Regions from separate parts of the Homo sapiens genome. Here all the other regions are linked to region 1. The links are contacts of gene promoters, found by promoter capture Hi-C in human tissues and cell types (Jung and others, 2019). All regions are on one chromosome and are shown on one strand. Each heading gives the region's core, a stretch centred on a gene start or on the middle of the fragment in contact. The rest is flanking DNA. Distances are from core to core; before and after follow the strand shown.

Evidence for each region. The method cuts DNA at HindIII sites, captures the fragments that hold promoters and counts their contacts. A contact is called where the count stands out against the background at its distance.
Region 2: a contact is called between a fragment that was not itself captured here and the fragment with the promoter of MSI1 in region 1, in 4 of the 25 tissues and cell types used here (H1 embryonic stem cells, liver, mesenchymal stem cells and 1 more).
Region 3: a contact is called between a fragment that was not itself captured here and the fragment with the promoter of MSI1 in region 1, in 4 of the 25 tissues and cell types used here (H1 embryonic stem cells, dorsolateral prefrontal cortex, heart left ventricle and 1 more).

The regions. Positions count from the first base shown.
Region 1 is chr12:120,366,947-120,371,451 of GRCh38, forward strand. MSI1 (musashi RNA binding protein 1) reads right to left here and starts at 2,218. Exons shown (of 15, transcript NM_002442.4): 1 at 2,087-2,218; 2 at 1,887-1,927; 3 at 1,246-1,327; 4 at 1,062-1,146. The coding sequence starts at 2,145. It also overlaps the pseudogene RPS27P25. The HindIII fragment of the contact is 19,353 bases long and covers 1-4,505 here.
Region 2 is chr12:120,454,629-120,459,545 of GRCh38, forward strand. GATC (glutamyl-tRNA amidotransferase subunit C) reads left to right here. Exons shown (of 4, transcript NM_176818.3): 3 at 2,448-2,551. Among named protein-coding and RNA genes, the nearest start is that of GATC, 11 kb to the left of the region's middle. The HindIII fragment of the contact is 8,224 bases long and covers 1-4,917 here.
Region 3 is chr12:120,473,101-120,477,907 of GRCh38, forward strand. It overlaps a transcript of DYNLL1 not described here. Among named protein-coding and RNA genes, the nearest start is that of SRSF9, 5.8 kb to the left of the region's middle. The HindIII fragment of the contact is 6,330 bases long and covers 1-4,807 here.

The DNA.
Region 1 (4,505 bases), core at 968-3,467:
ACAATAGGCCACTGTCTCTCCATTTCCAGGCTTGGGTCACTCAGGCTGCGCCAAGAAGATCCTTTCAGAGCCGGCAAAGTTGAGGCCTGGCCTCATTTGCTCATTACTGCGAGCGGGAGCGGGAGCCACTGGGCAGAGATAACAGGAGCTGGGGACAGGCGGTAATTTGACAAATTCTTGGGCACAAGCAGCTATTGTTGCAGGTAAACGGGAGCCAGGGACTGACCCAAGCAGAGAGGCCCAAGGCTGGGGGACAGCAGGGAAGCATGGAGAGAAGAGATCCACACTATCCCTGCCCCCAGCAGACAGACACCCCCATCACATGGGAGTAACCCCCTCCTCTGACTTTTCTACTTTTCCATCTGCCCTGGAGCCAGCGCCCCCTGCAGGGTCTAAGACACGAAGGAGCTGTGGGACAACAGCAAAATGTTCCATGAGTTTGAATGCCAACCAAGCAGCTTCTCCTAAGATCTAGTCTTCCGAAGGGTCGTTTCCAGGCAAGCTAGAGCCTTTCTCATAAATCCCCTCCGTGGGCAAAGCAGGTCCCTGTCTTCCACACAAAGCAAGGAGCTCATTGACCAAAAGTCGGGGGAGGAGGGAAGGAGAGAGGGAGGGGGCTTCAAGGGATGCTTTGCCATTGGTCTGGATGAAGAGGGGGTGTCGCAGAGCCAAATACTAGTTAGAGTTCACAGAAGCCACCGGGTGGGTCAGTGCTACCCTGACTCACCCAATTTGGGCTGGGGGAGGGACCTAGCCCCACCCCAAGCTCTGCTCTGAGGCATCATGATTAGTACTTCTAGGGAGAGGGTGGCGGCTGCCTCTCCCCTCACCAGGACTAGGGGAGGGGGGATGTAGCATCTCATGGCAGGCCAGGGATTTTTCTCCTCCCTCTCCCCCCCAACTCTAGTGACAAAGTTTCAGAGCATGGCAGCCCTCTTACTCAGAAAAACTCCCTCCTTCCTCATGGACCCCGTCCAGCTGTCCCCTGGGGAGAGTCCTGACCCTCTCCTCCGGCAGCCTCCCTCTCCCAAAGGACCCCCGAAGCCCCGAGGGCCACTCACTGTTTTGGAGTCGAGCTCGTGCCGCGATTGCGCCAGCACTTTATCCACCCCCGCCTGGTCCATGAAAGTGACGAAGCCGAAACCCCTGCGCGCCGTAGTGAGGGAGAGGCAGATGGTTACAAGGCAGTGAGTGGCGGGTGGAGGGGGGCGAGCCGGGAGCAGGAGGAGGGGGTGAGGGGCTCACCTGGATCTCTTGGTCAGGGGGTCCCGCATCACCAGACACTCCTTCACCTCCCCGAACTGGCCGAAGTATTCGCGCAGCCCTTCTGTAACCACACACCCGCCTTCGGACCAGCCCGGGCCCCGCGCCCTTCCCCCCCCCCCGTCCTTTGCCCCCGGTGACCCCGGAGCGGCCCGGCCGCCCCCGCGCCAAGCTGCCCGCGCGTTCTCCACTGCCGCCGCCCCCCACCGCCCTCGCCCCGTTCCCGCTGAGCCTCCTGGCGCCCACCGGGGCCCCGGGAAGCCGAGGGCCGAGCTGGGCTGGAAGGGGGACGGCTCCGGCCGGGTTCCCGCCGCTCCGGGAGCAGCCTCACAAAAGTTTGAGCCGCAGGTGCGAGCGGAGTTGGCGCTGCCGCCGGCGGGTCCCGGGGGCCCAGCCCACCCCCCGATACCCCCTGAACCCCTCATCTGCTCCCCTCCACCCGCTGGGCCGGGTGCGCTCGCGGATCGCCCTGCGCTCTCGGGGTCTCCGGGCGGGGCGCGAAAGAGGGCGCGAGGGCGCCCGGGGTCAGCAGGGCGCAGGGCCGGGCTGGGGTGTCCGGGTCCGGGGCGCCGGGGGGTCCGGGGTGCCCTGCCGGACCGGCGGGCGCTCCCGGGCTCGCTCACCCTGCGTAGTCTGCCAACTGAGTCCCCCGATGAACATCTTGCTGCGGGAGGAGGAGAGACACAAAGGGCCCGCGTGAGCGCCGGGCGCCAGGGCGCAGGGGGCGCGGGCCCGGGCTCCGGGGAGGCCCGGCCGGACCCGGATCGGCCATGTTGGCGGGGCCGGGGCGGGCGCGGGCCAAGCAGGCCGGGCCGGGCCGTACCAGGGGTCGTGCGGCGAGTCCGGGGAGGCGAGGCCGGGCTGGGGCGCGTCAGTCTCCATCGGGAGCCGCGGGCGGCGCGGGCAGCGGAGCGGCGGCGGCGGCGGCGGCGGCGGCGCTCGGCGCGGGGCAGATGAGGAGCGCGGCGAAGGGGGCCGGACGGACAGGCCATGCTGCCCCCTCCCCCGACCCCGCTCGGGCGGGCGGGCGGGGACGGCCGAGGGGAGGGCCCGCCGGGGGCCGACCTGCCGGCTCCTCCCCCCGCCGCCCTGCGCGCATAAAGCCCCGCGCTCGCCCGCGAGCCCGGGCGCCCGCGGAGGCGGCGGCGCCGGGACCCCCTTCCCGCGGGGCTCCTGGGTCTCCGGGGCCGAGCGAGACCCCCGAATCCCGGTGCGGGCCGGGACCAGGGCGCGGCCGCACCCCCCACCCACCCCGGCGCGGGGGCCCGGCCGCGGGAACGCCCTCCCGGAATGAAGCGCTTCCCGGTGCCTTCAAGGTAGCTCGGTTCCGGATCGGGAACCCCCCCGGTCTTCCCTCTCAGGTCCCTGCTGTCCAGAATTGAAGAGAACCCCAATCTCCTCGGGTCGGGCGGGAGATAGCCCTAGTGCTCCCCAGTCCCCACATGCTCCATTTCCCCAGTCGGAGCGAGAAGCCGCCCTCAGAGCCCCCAGTTTCCTCCCAACCTAATTTACAGCCCCCCACCCCCACCCCAGGGCTCTAATTTAGAGCCCTCGCTCCGTTCCCAGGATCCCATATCCAGTTTGGGGGACCCACTCAGTGCCTCGCGTCCCGAGTGGGGAACCTCCATCAGCACCCCAGTAGAAACCGTATCCTCTTCCCCAATCCGTCCTCAGCCCTTGGTGTCCAAAGTGAGAGTCCCCCTTAGTTTCCCCAAATCCCTGCCGTCCACATTAGTGGACCCTATGGTCTGTTGAGAAAATCCCGCGCCCCAAGCCCGGGTTCTCAGTTTGCCGCCACCCCCACCTCCCGGTGTGAGGAGTCTCCCCTGGTTCTCTCCCTCCCTGGCCGGTTTTTGTGAGATCCATTCAGACTCCTGTCCTGATTCGGGAAACCCGGTTCCAGACACTCACCACCCCCACCACACCGAGGCTGGAGGAAAAGGCAGTGCCTCTTAGAGCCTCCTGTTTCCAGTTTAGGAGCCCAACGCCTCAGCTGTGCACCGTCCCCTCCGAATGACCCCCTTCTTTTGCAGAGGTCTAAGCTCCACCCCATCCCATTGGAAGAGCCTAAACTACCTACCCACTGCATTTGGAATGACTTCCCTCAGTCCCTCTTATTTTGAGGCTACTCCCCGTGAAGGCAAACACCTTCCTTTCTACCCCCATCTTCTGGGTCTCTGGGATCCCCCAGTACTTGCACCCAAGGCTCCTTGGAGTCACCTTACGTACCCCTAAAATTCCCTCCCTCCAGCCTGGGAACAACCCTGAGAAAGTATTCTGGTTCACCAGGGGAGCTGCGGGGCCACTCTCCTTATCCCCACCTCTCCTTATCCCCGCCTCTCCATATCCCCACCTCTCCATATTCCCACCTCTCCATATCCAAGCCTTAGGACCCTTCACTTCCCCAGCTGAAACCAGCCAAAAAAGGATCAAACCAGGAAGCTTAGGTGGCCAACACCCCTTCTCCCCATCCCTGCTGGGGGTCTCAGTGCCACACAAGCCCCTCCCTCCCAACTCACCTTCTACTCCTTCCCCCATCCCTACCTTAATCCATCCGGTGTAATCCAGTGACAACCCATGTTGACAAGCCCTTTGCTGTTCACCTTCACATTCCATCCTGAATTCAACACCTTTTATTCCTGGGCATCATAACTCTGACCTCTGGAAGGGTGCCCATCCCCCTCTTGATAGCCCTCCTTCCCTCTCCCCACCCCAACCATCAGGCAGAGAAGAAAGTGAGAGACTTACAGTAATGGTTTCCTTGGGGACCTTCTGGGAATGCTCAGCAGGTATATCCTGCCACCCTGTGAGCATAACACTAGAAACAAACTTGCTTTTTCCTGTTTGTGTCCCCTACTCTGCCCCACAGTTTCTCAGCATCCCCTGGACTGGGGACTGGAGGGCCACCCACACAAGGCATTTCTTACCATTCCGACACAAAAGCATTCCAGTTTGTGTTGTAGCAGAGACACAGATGAGGGTGAGCAGGTAGCCTCTGCGGTATTAGGGAGGTGACTCTTCTTAGGTCTGAACTTAAAAAGGGTCATTGGAGAGGTGCGGGGAGTAGGGATCTTCCAGTGTTCCTGGACTTTGGTTTGTGTGCTGGTGCTGCTGGGCAGATGAGCTTGAAGGATAGGAAATGGGTCCTTTCCGGCAGTGGCGACCTACCCACGAGAACATGCCTCTCGACAGGGATCTCCTTCATCCTTCTCCAGAAGAGAAGAGGAAACAGAAGAAGAAAC
Region 2 (4,917 bases), core at 16-2,515, 87 kb after region 1:
ATGGTCTTGATCTCCTGACCTCGTGATCTGCCCGCCTCAGTCTCCCAAAGTGCTGGGATCACAGGCATGAGGCACCGCGCCCGGCCTCTTAGCCATTTTTTAATACTGTCCAACAGAAACTATAAACTCCAGAAAGTCCAAGGGTTACCTTTGAATAGTATAATTATGATTTTTATTTTACTTTTGTTCTCCCAAGTTTTCTTAAATGAATACAGTCCTTGTGTTATTCAAAAAAAAAAAAAAATCTAGTACAACTCTCTTTTGTGTGTGTGTGTGTGAGACACTGTCTCACTCTGTCACCCAGGTTGGAGTGCAGTGGTGTGATCTCCGCTCACTACAAACTCTGCTTCCTACATTCAAGTGATTCTTGTGCCTCAGCCTCCCAGGTAGCTGGGATTACAGGTATGTACCACCATGCCCGGCTAACTTTTATATTTTTAGTAGAGACAGGGTTTCACCATATTGGATGGTCTCGAACTCCTGACCTCAGGTGATCCACCTGCTTTGGCCTCCCAAAGTGCTGGGATTACAGGCTTGAGCCACTGTGCCTGGCCTTTTTTTTTTTCTTCTTGCTCTGTCGCCCAGGCTTGAGTGCAGTGGTGCCATCTCAGCTCACTGCAACCTCCGCCTCCTGGGTTCAGGCGATTCTCCCGCCTCAGCCTCCCGAGTAGTTGGGATCACACGTGCGTGCCACCACGCTTGGCTAGTTTTTGTATTTTTAGTAGAGATGTGGTTTCCCCACGTTGCCCAGGCTGGTCTTGAACTCCTGAATTCAGGTGATCCACCCGCCTTAGCCTTCCAAAGTGCTGGGATTACATGCAAGAGCCACCACACCTGGCCTTTCTCCCCCACACCCCGCCGCCCCCCTCCAAGAAATTTAATGTCTGAAAAGATCATACTTGTTCAAGGCCACACAGTTAAGAATGTGCCAGGTCCTGTAACAGACTTCAACTTTCTAATATTCATACCATGAGTAAATATTTGTTGTGTCTAGCTTTGGGCTGGGTGCCACAAAAAAAGAACTAGTCCTTTCCTAAAATAATCTTATTGTGACAACTTAGTTCTCTTTTTTTTTGAGGCAGAGTATCGCTCTGTCGCCCAGGCTGGAGTGCAGTGGCGCGATCTCGGCTCACTGCAAGCTCCGCCTCCCGGGTTCACGCCATTCTCCTGCCTCAGCCTCCCAAGTAGCTGGGTCTACAGGCGCCCACCACCACGCCCGGCTAATTTTTTTGTATTTTTAGTAGAGATGGGGTTTCACCGTGTTAGCCAGGATGGTCTCGATCTCCTGACCTCGTGATCCGCCCACCTCGGCCTCCCAAAGTGCTGGGATTACAGGCGTGAGCCACCGCGCCCGGCTGACAACTTAGTTCTTATGTGCAGCCTTAGCCCAGATGTACCTGTCACATCTTTGTCCCTCTCTGACATGACTCAAACGCCATTAGGGTCTGCCCTCAGTCTGTGCCCACTCAAAGCAGGAGGAGCGTGGCTACTACCGAATACCATATCAGTGATTTAACAGACTGCTTATTTTTTTAATCTAAGTATCTGGAAGCAGGCTTACACACTTTTACACCTTGAAACAATAGTGAAGCCTCATGCAAATGTTCAAGCTCTTGTGTGTTTTTTACCGGTTTGCCATCTGAAGGCTTTAGTAAAGTCACTAGGTCCCACAGAACACTGGGAGATTCTTGAGCTGTTGGTGGCACATCTTGCTCAAGGGCAGGCACATCCACCAAAGTGGCTGTGGTGGAAAAAGCATTCATTTTAGGTGTATCAGATTGGGCTGAGATCCCAGTTGTTACTTAGCAGCCAACATCCTTAAGTTACTCTTGTGGCAAGTTTGCTTCCCCATCTCTGCTTAGCTTTCCAGCTTCATCTTCCACCCCGGCAGACCACACCCCAGCCTGCTAAACTCCCTGTCCTTCTCTGAATCTCTGAGCTCTCGGCTCTATTGCTTTGGGATTCATGCTGCTATACGTGCCAGGAAGTCCATTTCTCATACCTTCATCCCCCAATCCAGCTATTTCTTGCCCATCCTTGAACAGTGACATCAGCTATTCTGAGGATGTGCTACTCACGCAGGCTGGACTAGGTACCCTTTCTATCCTTTGGCAGGCTGTACTAACCTCTGTTAGATTTAAAATATTGTTTTTGTAATTGCTTTTACCTGTCCCCACCAAAAGACAGTTGCCCATATAATCATCAAAAACTATTTGTTAAATCAATCCAGAGAAGTAATTAGCACTTACTTCTCAGGGTTGTTCGGTCAATCTATAAACTGTAGGCTGTTATTTGGTCTACTGTTGATCCCAGCTTCTCTATCTTTGAACAGTGCCCATTAACTCAAGAATATACTGCTTCCTTGTTCTCTCCTTCTTGCCCCTCTCCATCATCCCCTAAAAGCCCCCTTCTCTGAGAGGGTAACCTTGAGCTTCTGGGTTTTGTAGATGTCTATACCTGAGATCCGACAATGTGGTAGAAGGCAACTGTGCTGATGAATTACTACAAAACTCCCATCGCGTCGTGGAGGAGTACTTTGTGGCCCCCCCAGGTACGTGCTGCCCAGAATGGTTTAACAGATAGTCTCACAGTAACCTTAGGAATGAAGCAGGAAGCATGAGGACCAAAGATGCTATGTGAAGGCACTTTGAAAAGGATGAAGTGCATACAGATGGTGGCATTAAGGTGGCAGTAGGGTCCAGGGTCATACTCACCTCTAGGGGGCAGTTAGTAACAGGAACAAGCAAAACAGGATTGGGGGCATGCGGGAGGTTTAAAGTAGGTGGAAATCTGGAGCTCAAGATCTCCCTAAAGGGGCAGCTGGCATTCAGTGTTTCTCAAAGCCACAGTTAAGACCCTGCCAGATCCTGTAATCGACTCCAACTTTCTAGTATTCATACCATGAATAAATATTTGTTAGGTCTAGCTTTGGGCTGGGTACCACAAAAAAACCAGTCCTTTCCTAAAAGAATCCTTTTTTTTTTTTTTTTTTTTTGAGACGGAGTTTCGCTCTTGTTGCCCAGGCTGGAGTGCAATGGTGCAATCTCGGCTCACCGCAACCTCCACCTCCCGGGTTCAAGCGATTCTCCTGCTCAGGCTCCCCAGTAGCTGGGATTACAGGCATGCACCAGCACGCCTGGCTAATTTTTTGTATTTTTAGTAGAGACAGGGTTTCACTGTGTTAGCCAGGATGGTCTCGATCTCCCGACCTCAGGTGATCCACCCACCTCGGCCTCCCAAAACGAATCTTATTGTGACAACTTAGTTATCATGTGTGGCCTTAGCCCAGATGTTTCTGTCACATCTTTGCCTATGACATGATTCAAACGCCATTAGGGTCTGCCCTCAGTCTGTGCCCATTCAAAGCAGGAGGAGCATGGCTGCTACCCTATCAGTGTTGCCAGGCAGGAATGTAAACCCATTTCTCCAGAGAACCTGGATACCTGACATTTTGTGTGATATTTCTTAAATTTTTTTTTTTTTTTTTGAGATGGAGTCTCGCTCGGTCACCCAGGCTGGAGTGCAATCTTGACTCACTGCAACCTCTGCCTCCCGGGTTCAAGCAATTCTCTGCCTCAGCCTGCCGAGTAGCTGGGATTACAGGTGCCTGCCACCATGCCTGGCTAATATTTTTGTATTTTTAGTAGAGGCAGGATTTCACCATCTTGGCCAGGCTAGTCTTGAACTGGTGATCTACCCGCCTCAGCCTCCCAAAGTGCTGGGATTACAGGGGTGAGCCACTGCACCCCGCCGATATTTCTTAAATTTTAAGTGCTAGCAACCAATTCAAAATTTAAAAAACAAAATACCATCCAAGCCAAATAAAACACATCTGCAAGCCAGGTGCAGTCTGTGAGCCATCAGTTTACAACAGCTGGTATAGAGATTTGCATCATCTACCTACTGTAAATATTTTAAATAGAAGCTTTAAAATTACTCTGGGCTGACAGTAAAATCCAGAACCTTGGATAGGTTGACTGTTTTTATCTCCTCTGCAGGTAGGTGAATACTTGGAGCTGTTGTACTACCCCTCTGGGCATCTGGGAGTGGGACTAGCCAAAAGCAATCAGGTAGCCTGCTAAGTGCCAACTTCCAGTTCAGGATATCCTGAGGGAGAATCATTCTGAGCAGACTCCACAGAAGACATTGGCCCTGGTCAGCTTAAGGTGCCAGTTAAAGGCAGGCTCTGGTTGATGCAAGGATGGGAAAGAAAGCTAGAAATTTTGTGAGCTAAACTTTTTGTTTGTTTTGAGACGGAGTCTTGCTCTGTTGCCCAAGCTGGAGTGCAGTGGCGCGATCTCGGCTCACTGCAAGCTCCACCTTCCACGTTCATGCCATTCTCCTGCCTTAGCCTCCCAAGTAGCTAGGACTACAGGCGCCCACCACAACGCCTGGCTAATTTTTTGTATTTTTAGTAGAGACGGGGTTTCACCGTGTTAGCCAGGATGGTCTCTCTCTCCTGACCTCGTGATCGTCCGCTTCGGCCTCCCAGAGTGCTGGGATTACAGGTGTGAGCCACCGCACCCGGCCGTGAGCTAAACTCTTAATCATGCCTCCAATCCACTAAACCACCTGTTAACTGTGGAGAGAAAGGAGACTCTCCATCTCAGAGCCTGATAGTTGTGGCTCCAGCAGAAATATCTTTTGATCAGACATGCTATCTCCCACACAGAACCTTACTTCAGACTTTGCTTTTTGGGACCACCTGAGTTCATGGTCAGTGTTTCCTTCTAGTCCTATCTGCATATTAGTGGCTAATCAACCTGTATACTCCTTACTGAAAAAGGTGAATTTGGCTACACTTAGAACTGATTCTTTCAGATACTCCCAGTTAGGAAAACAGGACAGTAGCTACATTACTTCCATATTTTCCATGAGAAAGTAGTGATCAGTTAGCTCAGTAGAGCCAGCTGGGCG
Region 3 (4,807 bases), core at 531-3,030, 110 kb after region 1:
GTCATGTAGAGTACAGTTGTGATAAGGATAAGCTGCTTGAGACTACATCGGAGGGTCACCTACCACAGTCTTAGAGATTCTAAGGAAGGCTTCTGGGAGGAGATGTTTAGAGTCTTGAAGAACCAGTAGGAGTTAACCAGGGGGAAGAGGGAAGGGCATTTCAGACAAAAATGAGGGCATGACTGCTGAGTGCAGTGGCAGTAATCCCAGCACTTTGGGAGGCTGAGGCAGGAGGATGGCTTGAGTCCAGGAGTTTGAGACCAGGCTAGGCAATGTAGTGAGACCCCTATCTCTACAAAAAACTTAAAAATTGCCAGGCCCAGTGGCTCATGCCTGTAATCCCAGCACTTTGGGGAGGTCAAGGTGGGTGGATCACTTGAAGTCAGGAGTTCGAGACCAGCCTGGTCAACATGGCAAAACCTCATCTTTACTAAAAACACAAAAATTAGTCGGAGGTGGTGGCGCACACCTGTAATCCCAGCTACTTTGGAGGCTGAGGCAGGAGAATTGCTTGAACCCGGGAGGCAGAGGTTGCAGTGAGCCGAGATTGCGCCACTGAACTCCAGCCTGGTCAACACCGAGACTCTGTCTCAAAAAAAAAAAAAAAAAAAAATTAAAAAATTATCTAGGCATGGTAACGTGCACCTGTGGTCTCAGCTACTTGATCTCGAACTCTTGAGCTCAAGTGATCCGCCCATCTCGGCCTCCCAAAGTGCTGGGATTACAGGCATTAGCCACGGCACCTGACAGTCCCAGCTACTTAAGAGGCTGAGGTGGGAGGACTGCTTGAGCCTGGGAGGTTGAAGCTGTAGTTAGCCATGATTGCACCACTGCACTCCAGCCTGGGCAACAGAGTGAGACTCTGTCTCAAAACATAAAAAAGGACACCATGAGAAATCACCCAAATAGGAGAGAGAGTAGCAGACCAGGGAAAATCCCTACTGGTGTGACTGGGGCAAGGAGTTCAAGCAGGGAAGAAGAGAGAAGGAGCTGAGGCACCACCAGCCTGGGCAACATGTTAAAACCCCGTCTCTACAAAAAATACAAAAATTAGCTGGGCATGGTGGCACACACCCATAGTCCCAGCTACTTGGGAGGCTGAGGGGGGAGAATCACTTAAGCCCAGGAGGCAGAGGTTGCAGTGAGCCAATATTGCACCGCTGCACTCCAGCCTGGGCGACAGAGTGAGATCCTGTTACAGAAATGGGCTTGTCCTTCTTTTCACCAAACTGAAAAGAAGCCTTTGATGTTGGCAGACTATTAAGAATTAATGCAGTTCCCACAGCAAGCCATTTATTCTCCACCAGAGTGTAGGGCAGTGCCCAACTGAAAAAAACAACATAAAAAAAAAAAAAAATCCCAAAACCAACAACAGCTCGGGTGATGAGTGCATGAAAATCTCAGAAATCACCACTAAATAACTTAAAGAACTTATCCATATAACCAAACACCACCTGTTCCCCAAAAACCTATTGAAATAAAAATTTAAAACAAACAAAAAACCAACAACGCCAGGCATAAAACATGCTGCAAACCTGCCCATCTGGTTTTCTCCTTTTCTCTGTGACATCAGTCCCCTCTGGCATCCCAGCAAAATATTTTCCTCTCTGTCAGGCTCAGTCATGAGCTCCTCCCAGACCTTGGCCCTAGGTATCAGTGGGCAGAGAGGAAGTGATGGGGGAGTAGACCATCTGAGAAGATGAGGAACTGGTCCCGCCTGGCAGGAGAGCTATGGAATGAGTCACTGGGAAACGTGTTCCTGGTCACAGCACCCTGGGAGCTTTCTCTGTCATTCTCTACCACTGTACTTGTGTGATGGAGTAAAATAAAACATATTCTGGAAAGCTACATAATAAAGAACTGAGCCATGCAGGGGAGGAAGAAGAGAAACAGCAGCAGAACTAGGAGGTTTGGAAGAGAGTTTGGAATTGGGGGTGAGCTTTAGGAAAGCAAGTGTCAAGTGTGGGAGGATGAGAAGAGAAAAATGGGAAAGATAATTCAAGATTTGCAGTATATTGTGAATATAATTCCCCTCTGGTGTTTTTTTCAGAGACTGCAAAAAATCTTTAACATTATTTTTCAATAACTTTTAGATAATGAACTGGTGTTTTCTTTGAATATGCCCAAACAGGTGGGAACACAAGGGCTTGATTTTATATGAAGTTACTTCAAGTGAACATACTGTATTTGTAGCAGCTCGGTTGCTTTATTTTTACTAACTTGTTAAATTCTGTGATGGAGTCTTCAAACAGCTTTTTATATCAGGGCTTCCTTTTCTTGGATTAATGGGCTTCTGGGATCAGTGAACTCCTGCCTCCCTGCCCCCTCAACCTCCACCTCCTGACCCTGATCCTGCAAAGTTGTAACAGTTGTATGCAAAATATTGTATGTGGGCAGAAAAGTGTTTTTATTCTGGGGAGAATCTCCATGTAGCACTGTCCCACAGAACTTTCTAGGATGATGAAAACATTCTATATTTGAGTTCTATGTGGTAGCCATTGGTTACATGTAGCTATTGAGCACTTAAAATGTGGCTACTGCAACTGAGAAACCAACTTCTTAAATTATATTTAACAATAATTAACTTTAATTGTAATAGCCAAATGTGGCTAGTGGCTACCATACAGGACAGCGTAGGAATTTATCATTCTCAAAGGTCTATAAGCTGTACTCCCCCATTCCCCCAAAAAAGGCCAAGAAACACTGAGACCAATCACTTCCCTTTACAGCCCTATGGTACTGGCACATAGTAAGTGCTTAGTAAACACCTGTTGATTTTATTAACTAGTATATAAAGAACAGTTATTCTAGCTCCAGAAAAGTGGAACTGAGGTACAAAATGGCAAATGAGCTCATCAGGTTCACCAAATTTCATTTCCTAAGCTCTAAATTCCTTACCCTCAACCCAGAACTTTTTCCAAAACATTTTCCACTGTAACAAACCTTGAAAACTTTCTTCACAGCAGAGTAAATCAGAAACACAAGCAAAGGGTAGGGGGGTGTGAAAAGATTAATAACAGTACTAAGAATGTTTTTCAATGCAACAAAAAAGGATGCATTTATTTAGTAGAATCCTAATTTTTTTAGACCCAAGTCAGTTTTATACTAAGCAGATTTTTAATGAACTGCGTCAATATAATTCAGTAATGGCACCTCCAAGGCAAATACATTCCTTAAAGGTAAAAAACAAGTATGGGAATTATCTGGAGTTTTTTTTTTTTAAGTTAAAAAAAAATAATAATAACTGAAAGCCAGGAAGCTTCTAGGCTACACATCCCCCATGCTAACACATGCCCAGTGGCTGAACTTCCTTCTGTCTGCCTGAGGCTGGCTCTCCCCCTCAGCCAGCACATGTGCAGGGCTTCTGTGAATGTCACATTGACAGACATTCCTTGCTAGGCAGCTGGGGACCAGTTTCTTTTGTAATTCCATCCTTCTCATGGGCTGCCAGTCTGTCTTGTTGTGACACACTCCTTGAAGGTGCTAGAAGGACAGCGGATGTTTGGGGGGTTTTTTTGTTTGTTTTTTGAGACAGAGTTTCGCTCTTGTCACCCAGGCTGGAGTGCAGTGGTGCGATCTCGGCTCACTGCAACCTCCGCCTCCCAGGTTCAAGCGATTTTCCTGCCTCAGCCTCCTGAGTAGCTGGGATTACAGGCATGCACCACCACACCTGGCTAATTCTGTATTTTTTAGTAGAGATGGGATTTCTCCATGTTGGTCAGGCTGGTCTCGAACTCCCAACCTCAGGTGGTCCGCCCGCCTTGGCCTCCCAAAGTGCTGGGATTACAGGCATGAGCCACCGCGCCCGGACTTTGTTTTTTGTTTTGTTTTTTTTGTTTTTTTTTTTGAGACGGAGTCTCGCTCTGTTGCCCAGGCTGGAGTGCAGTGGCACGATCTTGGCTCACTGCAACCTCTGCCTCCTAGGTTCAAGCGATTCTCCTGCCTCAACTTCCCAAGTAACTGGGATTACAGGCACCTGCCACCACACTTGGATAATTTTGTATTTTTAGTAGAGATTGGGTTTCACCATGTTGGCCAGGCTGGTCTCGAACTCCTGACCTCAAGTGATCCACCTGTCTTGGCTTCCCAAAATCCTGGGATTACAGGTGTGAGTTACCACGCCCAGCCAAGAGCAGGTTTTTTTTATCTAGTGCTATGCTTGGACCCCAGCTTTAAGAGCCCAGGGTTATGTACATGGCATCTGGGACTTTGGTGGTGGCTTCACTCCTTGTCTGCTCAACATTTGTTCATGTATTCAACCCACATTTATCGAGCCATAGAACATTGAGCCTGGCTCTGTGCTGGGCACTGGTGCTCGGGATACAACAGTAAGACTCAACCCTGCCCTCACACCATTCACAGACAACTAAAAAGGCAATTACAGTCAGGCGTGGTGGCTCATGCCTGTAATCCCAGCACTCTGGGAACTCGCTTGAGCCCAGGAGTTCCAGACCAGCCTAGGAAACCTAGTAGATCCCGTCTCTACAAAAAAAATAAATAAATAAAAATAAATAAATAAATAAAAAAAGCTGGGTGTGATGGTGTGCACCTGTAGTCCCAGCTACTCTGGAGGTAGAAGCGGGAGGATGGCTTGAGGCCAGGAGTTGGAGGCTGCTTTGAACTAGGGTCTCGCCACTGTACTCCAGCCTGGGTGACAGAGCAAGACCCCGTCTCTGAAAAATAAAGTAAAAATATATATATATTTTTTTTTCTGAGACAGAGTTTCGCTCTTGTTGCCCAGGCTGGAGTGCAATGGTGCGATGTCAGCTCACTGCAGCCTCCGCCTCCTGGGTTCAAGTGATTCTCC